Linked DNA regions of Homo sapiens: region 1 is linked to region 2. The links are contacts of gene promoters, found by promoter capture Hi-C in human tissues and cell types (Jung and others, 2019). All regions are on one chromosome and are shown on one strand. Each heading gives the region's core, a stretch centred on a gene start or on the middle of the fragment in contact. The rest is flanking DNA. Distances are from core to core; before and after follow the strand shown.

What was found. The method cuts DNA at HindIII sites, captures the fragments that hold promoters and counts their contacts. A contact is called where the count stands out against the background at its distance.
Region 1: the fragment with the promoter of CYP4F2 here is called in contact with the fragment with the promoter of OR10H2 in region 2 in 1 of the 25 tissues and cell types used here (pancreas).

What each region holds. Positions count from the first base shown.
Region 1 is chr19:15,893,051-15,900,476 of GRCh38, forward strand. It overlaps CYP4F2 (cytochrome P450 family 4 subfamily F member 2), which reads right to left and starts at 5,024. Exons shown (of 13, transcript NM_001082.5): 1 at 4,976-5,024; 2 at 4,364-4,562; 3 at 2,456-2,600. The coding sequence starts at 4,561. RefSeq lists an enhancer at 1-235. The HindIII fragment of the contact is 5,329 bases long and covers 2,240-7,426 here.
Region 2 is chr19:15,723,210-15,730,073 of GRCh38, forward strand. OR10H2 (olfactory receptor family 10 subfamily H member 2) reads left to right here and starts at 4,815. Exons shown (of 1, transcript NM_013939.2): 1 at 4,815-5,843. The coding sequence starts at 4,835. The coding sequence ends at 5,782. The HindIII fragment of the contact is 21,841 bases long and covers 1-6,864 here.

The DNA.
Region 1 (7,426 bases), core at 3,774-6,273, 170 kb after region 2:
TAACATGAGATGGTGTGCTCTAACATGCACATGAGATGGTCTAACATGATCTTAAAAGCGTGTTCCACATACAGGCTCTGGGTTGAATATAAATATGGTACCTTTAATGTCACAGACATAGCCAACATGTGAACCAGACTGTTCCTCAGGCATGACCCAAATATACTATAACACATGCCTCAGACAAGACTCAAATAATGTCTCAGACAGTTCACATAGGGACCCTGGGTCCCAGACCTCACACAACCCCCAGACCTCACACAACGCCCAGATGTTTGGACCACCAGGAGAAAACGGCAGTGTCAAACAGCACCTGAGACAAGAACCAAACAGGCCCTCACATGCCCCAAATGTCCTTGGCCACAGATAAGCCCCAAACTTGACCAGCTCTACATGACCCCAGTTGGAATTATATACCAGATGTAACCAGGTATAACATATTTCAGGTGTAACCAGGACCCAGGTGTAAATATACAAGGCAGACCTGGCCATATAACAGCCATTGTAGAGACACGCCCCAGACATGAGCAAACAGCAACAGAGGTTAGACAGGTGGAAGTCCAGGGGCGATGGAGGCAATGGCATCTCCACCACAGCCCCTCCTGTCTGCACATCGGTCACGTGTTCAGCTGGAGGCAGCACAGCAACCCCAGCTGTGGGCAAAGCTTGGCCAGTGCGATGTCTACCTGGAGCAAAGAGCACAGGCTTGATGCACGTGGGGAGAAAGATGTGGATGACTGCCTGCCAGGGCCCCACCCACCAGCAGCCCATATCCCCAAAGGTGCACGCCAGGCTTTGTGTGTATAGGAGACCTTCTTCTGAGCTGTGAATCTGGAGAAAAACACACAGGACCCAATTCATGCTCTCCTAGGCTGTGAGAGAGAAGGATCTGCAGGGAAGAGGTCGAAGCCCTCTCCCTGAGAATTTCAAGCAGCATCTCATCCTCCTGTCAGTGCTGAGCACCCCCTGCCTCCTCACATCCTCCATGCAGGACTCTCCAGTCCTTCAGTTACACAGACAGAAAAGGTCTTTCCCCATGTGGATCCACACACCATGTTCCCTGGGCTCTCATTCATCCCATTTTCCAGATGAAGAGCCTGAGGCTCTGAACAATAAAGTCACTTGCCCACAGTCCCAGACCACGGCAAGCCTGAGGCCTAAGACTAGGTCTGTCTGCACCCATGGCCTGAATCCTTAACCAACAAACTTCTTTGTGCCCCCAAAACAGTAGCTCTGGAAGACCCAGGCCTACCAAGACTGGGCAATCAGAGACACAGGGATTGGGTGAAAAATTGGTCCTGTGATCCAGGCCAGGAGAAGTAAACCATGGGCCATTTCTGGGAACTCTAGGGGAAAGGTGGCCTTTCCCATAAGAACTGAGCTTCTGGGACTCATCGTTGACATCATGAGGAAAAGGCCACCTTGATAGGAAAAGCGACATGGAGAAAGCTAAAGCCAAGAGAGAAAGACAGATTTCCAGTGACCTTGTGTGAGACCTGGATCCAGCCATGCCTGAAGGCCACCCTCCCTGGACTTTAAAGTCAATAGATTATCTTTCTTTGCTTAGACCACACCAGGTTGGGTTTCCACCACTCACAACTGAAAGAGACTTCAATAACCAGAGACAGCTGGGTACCAGCCCAGAGTCACTCAGCATTTTGAGGTCAGAGCCATGGTCTCTGTAGGATGCTGCCCATTCCCCCTGCTCAGCCTCGCCCGTCCAACGATGGGAAGCACAGGGGTCAAGGAAAGGGACCCAAGCTGGGGTGGAGTCTCCTCTTGGAGATCCCCGGGACCTGCAGCAGGAGAGCAACGAACTTAGGGCAGACAAGCTATAGGATGGGGTAAAGGGAATTGACCCACCAGAGGTGGACATCATGGAAGTAGCAGCCCAGATCCCCCACCAGCCACAAGTCCTCCTCATTGTTCTAGGCTTTGGGACAGGCAAGGTGATGCTAGGCCTGGCAAGGGGCCTTGAATACTAACGATGTCCAATTGCCTCACCCTGCACTCTCCTTTCAAACATTCCTACTCATTGTTCCAGACACAGCTCCAGTAACTCCTCCTCTAGGAAGCCTTCCAGCCTGCCCCAGCAGAGACCTTGTTCTTCCCTGGGCTGTGATCCATCTCCCTCTGGCCCTTTCCTGATCCCATGAAGTTGGGGATATCTCTATCCAGGTCCATCTCCTTAAAGTTGGGGGTTCCTCCAGGACTGGGCCTTGGGTTGAGGTCTCTTAGGGTTCCAGGGCAGCCCAGAACACCAGAACAGGGGGTAGATGGCAATAGAGAGAGGAGACGCTGAGATGGAAATTGATGAATACATGAAAGAAAGATGAAGATAGCTGAGAGGGAAGGAAAGGAGAGGCCAGAGTACTGCAGGGCCCACACAGGAGCTTGGGGATAGCGGAAGTGCAGGCCTCAAATGCACTGCCCCACCAGCTGTTCCAGATGGTACCTGAGGCGTTGATGACAGACCGGATGATGTCGGGGTGGCACAAACTGAGGAGGGGGGAGATGGGTCCCATCCAGACCTTAAAGCCCTGGGGGTAGGTGGCCACCAGCTGAGTCAGAACTCTCATGCCCTCCTCTGTGGGGTTGACCTGCAAGCAAGGCAGGGGTCATTACCTTCTGTGATAGTTAATTCTAGGTGTCTACTTGACTGGGCTAAGGGATGCCCAGGTAGTTGGTCAAACATTATTTCTGGGTGTGTCTAATCTATTCATCCTATCTATCTAATTTTTCTATCTATATATCTATCTGCCTACCCATCTATCCATCAATCCATTTTATCTGTGCTTTCATCCATCCATATATTCATCTGTCTGTCTGCTTATCATCTATTAATAGCCATCTATCCGTCTAATCTATCCATCATATATATCTACTCCATCTGTCTACATAATCTATCCATCCTATCTACTCTATCTACCCATCCATCCATCATCCATCCATCCATCCATCCTATCTGTGCATCCGTGTGTCCATGCATCCATATGTCCTATTATTTGTCTATCTATCTATCCATCCATCCATCCATCCATCCATCCATCCATCCATGCTATCTGTGCATCCATGTGTCCATGCATCCATCTATTCTATTATCTATCTACCTACGTGCCTGTCCATCCATCCATCCATCCATCTATCCATCCTATCTGTGCATCTATCTATCTATCCTATTAGCTATCTATCTATCTATCTATCTATCTATCTATCTATCTATCTACATTCCTCCTGCTCTATCTATCTATCTATCCACATTCCTCCTGCTCTATCTCTCTTGGGTCCATCTCCAAGTCCCAAGGGTGCATCCCAGGGCAGAGGGAGAAGACGCACTGTCCACTCACAGAGGCCCAGTTATCTTGAGAGGAAGGATTTTCTTTTTCTGGGAGTCATTTCAGCCCAGAGGCAGCTATATGGGGAGGTCCTCACAGGGGAGATTTGTGGGGAGCAGTATCGCCTCAGGACATGTCCCTAAGGCTGGTCCCCACATGCCTTCATGTCCTGGCTGATCCACAGAGGCTCCAGTTCCTCCCATGGAGAAGGTTCTGCACATGGGAGACCTTCCCTTTTCAGCAGCCACTAGTGGAGCAGAGGTGACTCTAACTGTCCATCAGGACAATGGCTCCCACCTGGGAGCAGCTTCTGCAGCAGGCTCTGTGCTAGTGTGTCCTGTGCACCCTTCCACTTTATCTGTGGACACATCCATCAATCCTGCCATTTGCAAATGAGCAGACTAAGACCACATTCCCCAAAGAGGAGAGCGGTCTAAGTCAGAGGGCAAGGTCACGGGGAGGAGAAAGGCCAAGGAAAGCTTCTGAAAGGTGAAGTGAGTGGCCAACTTTTATCTGGGTTTGGCAACAGGTCTCATTGATAAGAGGGAGATAAGAAGAAGAATATAAGAGAAAGGTGCCTTCGGGTGTAGTGGAAGTGGGAGACGGCCCATGCCTCTCCTCTGGCCCAGCTGTACCCTCATAACAGGAAATAGTCCAGGCAAGGAGAGGACCCTGGACAGTGGGCATAAGAAGCCTCGAGTCCAGCAATGGAGAATGTGGGAATGCCAGGGACTCGCCTCTCTGTGCAGCCAACCCTCTGCCCAGGAGCCCCGCAGAGGTGCATTAATGTGGGAAGACAGGCAGGAAAAGGATTCAATGCAGGCCTGGAGTGGGAGGACAAGGAAGTGAGAAGGGCTTGCGTAGGCACCTCACAGAAATGAATAAGCAGAGGAATGAGTAAGATGCCTCCTCTGCTTCTCTGCCACCCCAGATCCCAGCCCACCCCTTCACCCCCACTCCCTAAGCCTCGTACCCCTCAGGAAGTCCATCCATCCTGAGACCTAGACCCATCCTGCTGCCACACTCACCATGCCCTGGTGTCCCCAAAACCAGTTCCGTCTTGGGGGTTGTGGGAAACACCGAAGGCGGCGGCAGTTGTCATAGAAGGCGTAGGTCCAGGCCAGGACATGGGCCAGGAGCCAGGAGGCCCCGACCAGCAGGAGGAGCAGCCAAGGGGATGCTGCCACTGGCCAGAGGCCCAGCCAGGACAGGCTCAGCTGGGACATCCTGCAGGGCAGACGGGATGGACGGTGAGATCCTGAGGCCCAGAGAACGGCCCAGGGACCTCCAGGGACAGTGGAGAGGCAGGGACGGGCAGTGCCGGAGGTAGAGCAGGGAGGGCTCAGGGATGGGTAAAAAGGGGCTGAGAGGTAAAGTCCAGAAAGGCCCAACCAAAACCAGCAGCCAAGTGGCCTCCAGTTCCCTAGTAAGCACTTAGAATGGGAAAGAGAGAGAGAGACTGATTAAAGTCCAGAAAGGCCCAGCCTGAATCACTGTGAGGTTGCCAGGGGCTTGGTTTCAGTTACTCGGAAACCACCCATCCTCCAGGCCAGCACCCAGGAGCTGCGTGGGCCTTGGGCAGTGCCCCTCTCCATCCCAGGCCAGGACCCCCCCCAGGCCTGCCACCCCCAGCCTGGCACCTTCTGTCAGGAGCAGTCTGTCCCAGACAACCTCCTCTCTCTGTCTGCTGGGAGGCCTTTGACCCTGGCCCTTGATATAGCAAAGGCTGTGGGAGGGCTGGCTGGGTTGGGCTGGGCCAACCAATCCCTGCAGCCTGGATGTGTCTCCTGAGCCTGGGCAGCCAATCAACACCTGGCGTCAGGCCAGCTGGGTGCAGAGGAATCAGCTCAGGGTCCAGATGGATGGGTAGATGCACAGATAGATAGAGTAGATAGGATGGATACATTAGGTAGATAGATAAAGTAGATATAGATAATGGATATATTAGACAGATGGATAGATAGCTATTAATAGATGATAGATAGATACATAGATAATAGGATAAATAGATGGAATGGATAAACGTACAGCTAAGATGGATTGATGGATGGATGGGTAGGCAAATATATATATAGATGAGAAATTAGATAGATAGGATGAATAGATTAGATAGACACACCCAGAAATAATGTTCCATCTCTGTCCCAGATATGTGGGATCCTCATTTGTGACATGGGAACTAGGGATCTTGGATCACTCCAATCACTCCAGATGCTACAAGGCCAGTGACTTACTCAGTATGATGCTGAGGAACATGACCATCAGAAACAGGATCAGAGTCACTCTCAAGCAAAAAAAAAAAAAAAAAAAAAAAAAAAAAAAAAAAAAACTCCAAGGATTAAATGATTTTTCCCATTGTCCTGGGGAGAAATTAATCCAAGGGAGGTCACAGGAGGGCAAATAATTCCCCATCACCACCACCACCACCATGAGCATACCATCACCCATGGAGTTTTCTGATTTACTCTTTGGCCCATTAAGCGTGAAATTTCTTATGCTAGGTTTCTTTCTGATAAGGGAGAAGAGATTAGTATCTCTACATTTCCTCTCCTCCTGCTACCTAGTCTCTGTATTCTAGGTTAAATTATAATTTATGTTGAGGATTTACAATGGCTGATACACCTAGCTGAGCCTTCTGCACAGAGATACATTGGGAGTGGAGGTTAATTGGGTCAAAGGAGAAATGCCATAAGCCCACACTCCAGCCTATCAGGGTGGATTAAAGGTCTGATTTGCCCAACTCTTGTCACACCTGCTCCCACTGAGAGGTGACAGCATGCTGGCAGTCCTCACAGCCCTCACTCGCTCTCGGCGCCTCCTCTGCCTGGGCTCCCACTTTGGCGGCACTTGAGGAGCCCTTCAGCCCACCGCTGCACTGTGGGAGCCCCTTTCTTTTCTCTTCTTTTCTTTTTTTTTGGATTTTTTTATTATTATTATTATACTTTAAGTTTTAGGGTACATGCGCACAATGTGCAGGTTAGTTACATATGTATACATGTGCCATGCTGGTGCGCTGCACCCACTAACTCGTCATCTAGCATTAGGTATATCTCCCAATGCTATCCCTCCCCCCTCCCCCCACCCCACAACAGTCCCCAGAGTGTGATGTTCCCCTTCCTGTGTCCATATGTTCTCATTGTGTAGGGACATGGATGAAATTGGAAATCATCATTCTCAGTAAACTATCGCAAGAACAAAAAACCAAACACCGCATATTCTCACTTATAGGTGTAGGAGCCCCTTTCTAGGCTGGCCAAGGCCAGAGCCGGCTCCCTCAGCTTGCAGGGAGGTATGGAGGGAGAGGCGCGAGTACGAACCGGGGCTGCGCGCGGCACTTGCGGGCCAGCTAGAGTTCCAGGTGGGCGTAGGCTTGGCAGGCCCCGCACTCGGAGCAGCCGGCCGGCCCTGCCAGCCCCGGGCAATGAGGGGCTTAGCACCCGGGCCAGCGGCTGCTCGGGAAGGTGTACTCGGTCCCCCAGCAGTGCCAGCCCACCGGCGCTGCGCTCGATTTCTCGCCGGGCCTTAGCTGCCTTCCCGCGGGGCAGGGCCCAGGACCTGCAGCCCGCCATGCCTGAGCCCCCGGCCTCCGTAGGTTCCTGTGCAGCCCGAGCCTCCCCGATGAGCGCCGCCCCCTGCTCCAGGGCGCCCAGTCCCATCGACCACCCAAGGGCTGAGGAGTGCGAGCGCACGGCGCGGGACTGGCAGGCAGCTCCACCTGCAGCCCCGGTGCGGGATCCACTGGGTGAAGCCAGCTGGGCTTCTGAGTCTGGTGGGGACGTGGAGAACCTTTGTGTCTAGCTCAAGGATTGTGAACGCACCAATCAGCGCCCTGTCAAAACAGACCACTTGGCTCTACCAATCAGCAGGACATAGGTAGGGCCAGATAAGAGAATAAAAGCAGGCTGCCCGAGCCAGCAGTGGCAACCCGCTCAGGCCCCCTTCCACATTGTGGAAGCTTTGTTCTTTCACTCTTTGCAATAAATCTTGCTGCTGCTCACTCTTTAGGTTCACACTGCTTTTATGAGCTGTAACACTCACCGCGAAAGTCTGCAGCTTCACTCCTGAGCCAGCGAGACCACGAACCCACCAGA
Region 2 (6,864 bases), core at 3,565-6,064:
AGGTGTGTGAGGGACACAGTGGGCACCCGTGTCTCAGTCTGTGGAGGCGGAAGCCGCCCATCCCTGAGCTTTCCTGAGGAGCCTCCCCCTCTGCTTTCAGACACAGCTGGGGTGGGGCTCAGCGCTGTCCTGGGCGGGAGCAGGAAGGCTGAGCCGGGACAGCGCTGTGGGTTCTGCCTCCCTTAGCTCCGGACTGACCCTGGGCACCCCAGGACCCTCTCCCTTCCTGAGCACAGGCTAGGCTGTGAACACAGTGCAGAGACAGGGAGAGGTAGAACAAGGCTGAGGGTGGCCCACGGTCCATTTTTTTTTTTTTTTTTTGAGATGGAGTTTCGCTCTGTCACCCAGGCTGGTATGCAGTGGCGCAATCTCGGCTCACTGCAACCTCCTCCTCCCGGGTTCAAGCAATTCTCCTGTCTCAGTGATTCTCCTGTGATTCTCAGTGATTCTCCTGCCTCAGCCTCCTGAGTAGCTGGGATTACAGGCATGTGTCGCCACGCCCAGCTAATTTTTGTATTTTTAGTAGAGACAGGGTTTCACCAGGTCGGCCAGGCTGGTCTCGAACTCCTGACCTCAGGCGATTCACCTGCCTCAGCCTCGCAAAGTGCTGGGATTACAGGCGTGAGCCACCGTGCCCGGCCCCATGGTGTACTTTTTAAAAATTGAAATAAAATTCTCATAATATTGAATTAAATAGTATAAAGTGTACAATTTAGTGGTGTTTAGTACATTCACAAGGTTGTACAACCACCACCTCTATCTAGTTTCAGAATATTTTTGTCCCCACCCTTAAAAACCCGTACCCATGAGCAATCACTCCCCATTCCCCCCTCCCAGCCCCTGTCAACCAACACCTGCTTTCTGTCTCTATGGATTGGCCTGTTCTGGACATTTCATAGCAATGGGATCAGAATATATGTGACTCTTTTGTCTGGCTTCTTCCACTCAATATCGTGTTTTCAAGGCTCCTCATTTTGCATGGGTCATGATCCGTGTTGCATGGGTCAGTGCTTTATTCCTTTTTATTTTTTATAGGTATATAGTAGGTGTGTATACTTATGGGGTACATGAGCTGTTTGGACAAAGGCATACGATGAGTAATAATTACATCAGGGTAAATACAGGATCCATCACCTCAACCATCACCTCAAGCATTTGTTGTTTCTTTGTGTTACAAACATTCCAATTATATATATATATATATATATAATTTTTTTTTGACAGAGTCTTGCTCTGTCGCCCAGGCTGGAGTGCAGTGGCATGATCTTGGCTCACTGCAACCTCTACCTCCCAGGTTCAAGTGATTCTCCTGCCTCAGCCTCCCGAGTAGCTGGGACTACAGGCACATGCCACCACACCCAGCTAATTTTTGTATTTTTAGCAGAGACGGAGTTTCACTATGTTGGCCAGGATGGTCTCGATCTCTTGACCTTGTGATCTGCCCGCCTTGGCCTCCCAAAATGCTGAGATTACAGGCATGAGCCACCACACCCGGCCTCCAACTATACTTATTATATTAACTAATTATATTTAGCTCTTATAAAATATACATTAAATTATTGTTGATTGTAATCCCCCTGTTGTGATATCAAATACTAGATCTTATTCATTCTGTCTAACTATACTTTTTTACGCATTAATCATCCCCACTCCCCCCCAGCTATGTGCACTACCCTTCCCAGCCTCTAATAAACATCCTTCTGCTCTCTATGTCCCTGAAAGCAATTCTTTTAACTTTTGGCTACCACAAATGAATGAGAACATGCAAAGTCTGTCTTTCTGTGCCTGGCTTATTTCACTTGACATAATGACCTCCAGTTCCATTCATTTTGTTGCAAAGGACTGGATCTCATTCCTTTTTTGTGTCTGAGTAATACTCCATTGTGTATATGTACCACATTTTCTTTAACTAATTCTCTGTTGATGGACACTTAGGTTTCTTCCGAATCTGGGCTATTGTGAATAGTGCTGCAGTAAGCATGAGTGAAGAAATCTCTTCAATGTACTAATTTCCTGGCTCACATCTGTAATCCCAGCACTTTGGGAGGCTGAAGTGGGTGGATCACTTGAGGTCAGGAGTTTGAGACCAGCCTGGCCAAAATGGTGAAACCCCTCTCTACTAAAAATACAAAAATTAGCTGGGTGTGGTGGCAGGCACCTGTAATCCCAGCTAAGTGGGAGGGTGATGCAGGAGAATCTCTTGAACCTAGGAGGTGGAGGTTGTAGTGAGGTGAGAATATGCTATTGCACTCCAGCCTGGGCAATACAGTGAGACTGTCTCAAAAATAAAATTATGATTTTCTTTCTTTAGGGTATATGCCTAGCAGTGAGATTGCTGGATTGTAAGGTAGTTCTATTTTAGTTTTTGGGAAACTTCCATACTGTTCTCCATAGTGGCTGTACTAATTTACATCGCCACCAACAGTGTATGAGGATTCCCTTTTCTCTGTGTTCTCACCTGGATTCTCTATCTTTTGGACAAAGCTATTTATTGTCTTCTATCTTTTAGATAAAAGCTGTTTTAACTGGCATGAGCTTTCAAAAATTTAGATTAAATTTATTTAACCTGAAATTATCCTTTAAATATTTTAAAGTGGACAATCAGTGGCATTTAGTACATTAACATGTTGTGCAGCTACTACCTCTAGTTACAAGACATTGTCACCATTCCAAAAAGAACTTCATATCCATTCATCAGTCATTCCCCATCCCACGCTAGCCCCATTCCCTGACAACCACACATCTGCTTTCTTTCTCAGTGGATTTAACTATTCTGGACATTTCTTATAAATGGAATTATATACTATGTGGCCTTTTGTGTCTGGCTTCCTTCACTCAGCCTCATGTTCTCAAAGTGCATCCACGCTGTTGCATGTATCACTGATTCAATCTTTGCGTGGTTGCATAATATTTCATTGTGTGGTCGGACCACATTTTGTTTATCCATTCATTCATTGATCCAGTTTGCATTGTAACATAAACTTTTGTATTTTGCATCTAGCCTGTTTGCAGACTGGCAAGAAAGAGAGTGGGAGAGGAGTCACAGCCTCCTAGTTTAGTTTGTTGGGGAACTTCCATAAACTAAATAAAGTAGAAGGGCTCCTATTGGTGCAGGGAGGAGAGCTGCCCTGGCAGAGAAATTGGGCAGATCTGACTCTGTGGCCACTCAGGGAAGGTGATGAGAGAAGCCATGGCTGATAGCCTAGGTTTTTGCTGTTAGGTTTGGGATTGGAGGATTGGGGTTGGGGTCAAAAAGAGGAGGAGACCAGCAGAGTCACGTAGTGGAAGCATGCTGGGCCCATAGCCTAGAGGTCAGTGGACCATAACCATTTTCTGCTAAGAAGTTTTTGACTGGGCATGGTGGCTCACACCTATAAATCCCAGCACTTTGGGAAGCTGAGGCAGGCTGATCACTTGAACTCAGAAGTTCAAGACCAGCCCGAGCAACATGGTTAAACCCCATCTCTACTAAAAATACAAAAATTAGCCAGGTGTGGTGATGCGGGCCTGTAATCCCAGCTACTCAGGAGGCGGAGGCAGGAGAATTGCTTGAACCCAGGAGGCGGAGGTTGCAGTGAGCCGAGATCATGCCACTGCATTCCAGCAGGGACAGAGTGAGACTCTGTCTCAAAGAAAAAAAAAAAAAAAAGCGGAATTGTGATAGAGAAAGAGTAATTCACACAGAGCTGGCTCTGCAGGGGACTGGAGTTTTATTATTACTCAAATCAGTCTCCCTGAGCACTTGGGGAGCAGAGTTTTTAAGGACAACTTGGTGGGTGGAGGGGAAGCCAGTGAGCCAGCAGTGCTGATTGGTCAGAGATGAAATCAAAGCTGTCTTCTTGCGGAGAGTCAGTTCCTGGGTGGGGGCCACAAGATCAGTTGAGCCAGTTTATCGACCTGGGTGGTGCCAGCTGATCCATCAAGTGCAGGATCTGCAAAATATCTCAAGCACTGATCTTGGGAGCAATTTAGGGAGGGTCAGAATCTTGTAGCCTCCAGCTGCATGACTCCTAAACCATAATTTCTAATCTTGTGGCTAATGTTAGTTCTACAAAGGCAATCTAATCCCCAGACAAGAAGGAGGTCTGCTTTGGGAAAGGGCTGTTATCGTCCTTGTTCCAAACTATAAACTATAAACTATAAACTAAATTTCCCCCAAAGTTAGTTCACCCTATGTCCTGGAATGAACAAGGACAGCTTGGAGGTTAGAAGCAAGATGGAGTTGGTTAAGTTAGATCTCTTTCGCTGTCTCAGTCATAATTTTGCAAAGGTGGTTTCAATTTTCCAGGGGAGCAATGAGGCTCAGAGAGGGGAAGCAACCTGCCCTGCATCTCACAGCTAGAAAGCAGTGGTGCCGAGAATTAAACAGAGTCTGGACGTTTCCATGACATAGGGAAGAGATGACTTCCAGCTGAAGGTGGCAATCAGGGAGCAGCTTGCTCATAAAATTCAGGTAGGATTTGGACCCATAAAGATAGGGAAAAGCATGAAAAGACCAGCATGAACAAAGGCAGAAAAGCAAGGTGTAGGTGGTGGTGCATGGATCTAATAATCGTGATGGCAATAACAATAGCAGAATAATTATTACTATCAACATTTATAATTTATTAAATTCTTACTTTGTGTCAGGACCTGCACAAAGCACTTAAGGTGAGTGATCTTATTTAAACCTCAATACATTATTATTAATGCCTTTCTGCAGATGGAGTAACCATGGCTTGGACAGATGAAGGAGGCGCTCTCAGATGTCCTCCCAGGCAGGAATCACTAGACACCCCCATGCTCCTAACCACTGGGTCTTCTTTCCTCTCTTCCCCAACTAGGGGTGGCCGTCATGCTGGGGCTAAACCACACCTCCATGTCTGAATTCATCCTCGTCGGCTTCTCTGCCTTCCCCCACCTCCAACTGATGCTCTTCCTGCTGTTCCTGCTGATGTACCTGTTCACGCTGCTGGGCAACCTGCTCATCATGGCCACCGTCTGGAGCGAGCGCAGCCTCCACACGCCCATGTACCTCTTCCTGTGCGTCCTCTCAGTCTCCGAGATCCTCTACACCGTGGCCATCATCCCGCGCATGCTGGCCGACCTGCTGTCCACCCAGCGCTCCATCGCCTTCCTGGCCTGTGCCAGTCAGATGTTCTTCTCCTTCAGCTTCGGCTTCACCCACTCCTTCCTGCTCACCGTCATGGGCTACGACCGCTACGTGGCCATCTGCCACCCCCTGCGCTACAACGTGCTCATGAGCCCACGGGGCTGCGCCTGCCTGGTGGGCTGCTCCTGGGCTGGTGGCTCGGTCATGGGGATGGTGGTGACCTCGGCCATTTTCCAACTGACTTTCTGTGGATCCCATGAGATCCAGCATTTTTTATGTCATGTGCCACCTCTGTTGAAGTTGGCCTGTGGAAATAATGTACCAGCTGTGGCCCTGGGCGTGGGCTTGGTATGTATCATGGCACTGCTGGGCTGTTTTCTCCTCATCCTCCTCTCCTATGCCTTCATCGTGGCCGACATCTTGAAGATCCCTTCTGCTGAAGGTCGGAACAAGGCCTTCTCCACCTGTGCCTCTCACCTTATTGTGGTCATTGTGCACTATGGCTTTGCCTCTGTCATCTACCTCAAGCCCAAAGGTCCCCACTCTCAGGAGGGTGACACCCTGATGGCCACCACCTACGCAGTCCTCACGCCCTTCCTCAGCCCCATCATCTTCAGCCTCAGGAACAAAGAACTGAAGGTTGCCATGAAGAGGACCTTCCTCAGCACACTCTATTCCTCAGGCACCTGAGTAGCTGGTGTGGAAGTGCTGATAGAATATGATAGGAGGATGACCATCACCTTGTCTGCACAGTGTGGCTAGTAATGCTTACCTTGTAAGGCAGGTGTAAAGATTTCTGTATATGACAACACTCATCACATAGTAGGTGCTCAGTAAATGTTAAAAGCATGTTTACTTCCACAACTCTTGATCTGTATGTCTTTATCTGAGTTTTAATTTTTGAGTTATAGTAGCTTTATTAAGATGTAATTCACCTACCATACAATGTACCCATTAGAGCGCACATTTCTGTGGTTTTTGCGTATTCAGAGTTATGCAACCATCATGACAATCTGGCTTAGAGTATTTTAGTCATCCAAAAAAGAAACCCAAATCCTAGTGCTTTGGAAGGCTGAGTGGGAGAATTGTTTGATGTCAGGAATTCACGATCGGTCTGGACAACATAGTGAGATGCCATCTACACACACACACAAACACATACACACACACAAGTTCTTTTTTTTTTAATTTATTACACTTTAAGTTTTAGGGTACATATGCACTACGTACAGGTTAGTTACATACATATACATGTGCCATGTTGGTGTGCTGCACCCATTAACTTGTCATTTAACATTAGGTATATCTCCTAATGCTATCCCTCCCCACTCCCCCTACCCCACAACAGGCCCCAGTCTGTGATGTTCCCCTTCCTGACACACACAAAAATTCTGATAATTAGCTAAATGGGGTGGCACATTCCTGTAGCCCCAGCTACTCCAGAGGCTGATGTGGGAGGATTGCTTGCATCCAGGAGTTCGAGGCTGCAGTGAGCCATGATCACCACTGAACTCTGACTTGGGCAACAGAGCCAAACCTTGTCTCAAACAAACAAACAACCCATACTCATTATCAGTCACTCTCTGTTTCCTCCAAATCTCCATGCCCTCCAGCCCTAGGGAGCCACTAATCTTTCTGTCTGGTTAGAGTTGCTTTTTCTGGACGTTTCACATCAATGGACAACTGTAAATATAATTCTTTTATTTTCAGATGAATTGTTTCACTGAGCATAATGTTTTTGAAGTTCTCCTACATTGTAGCTTGTATCAGTA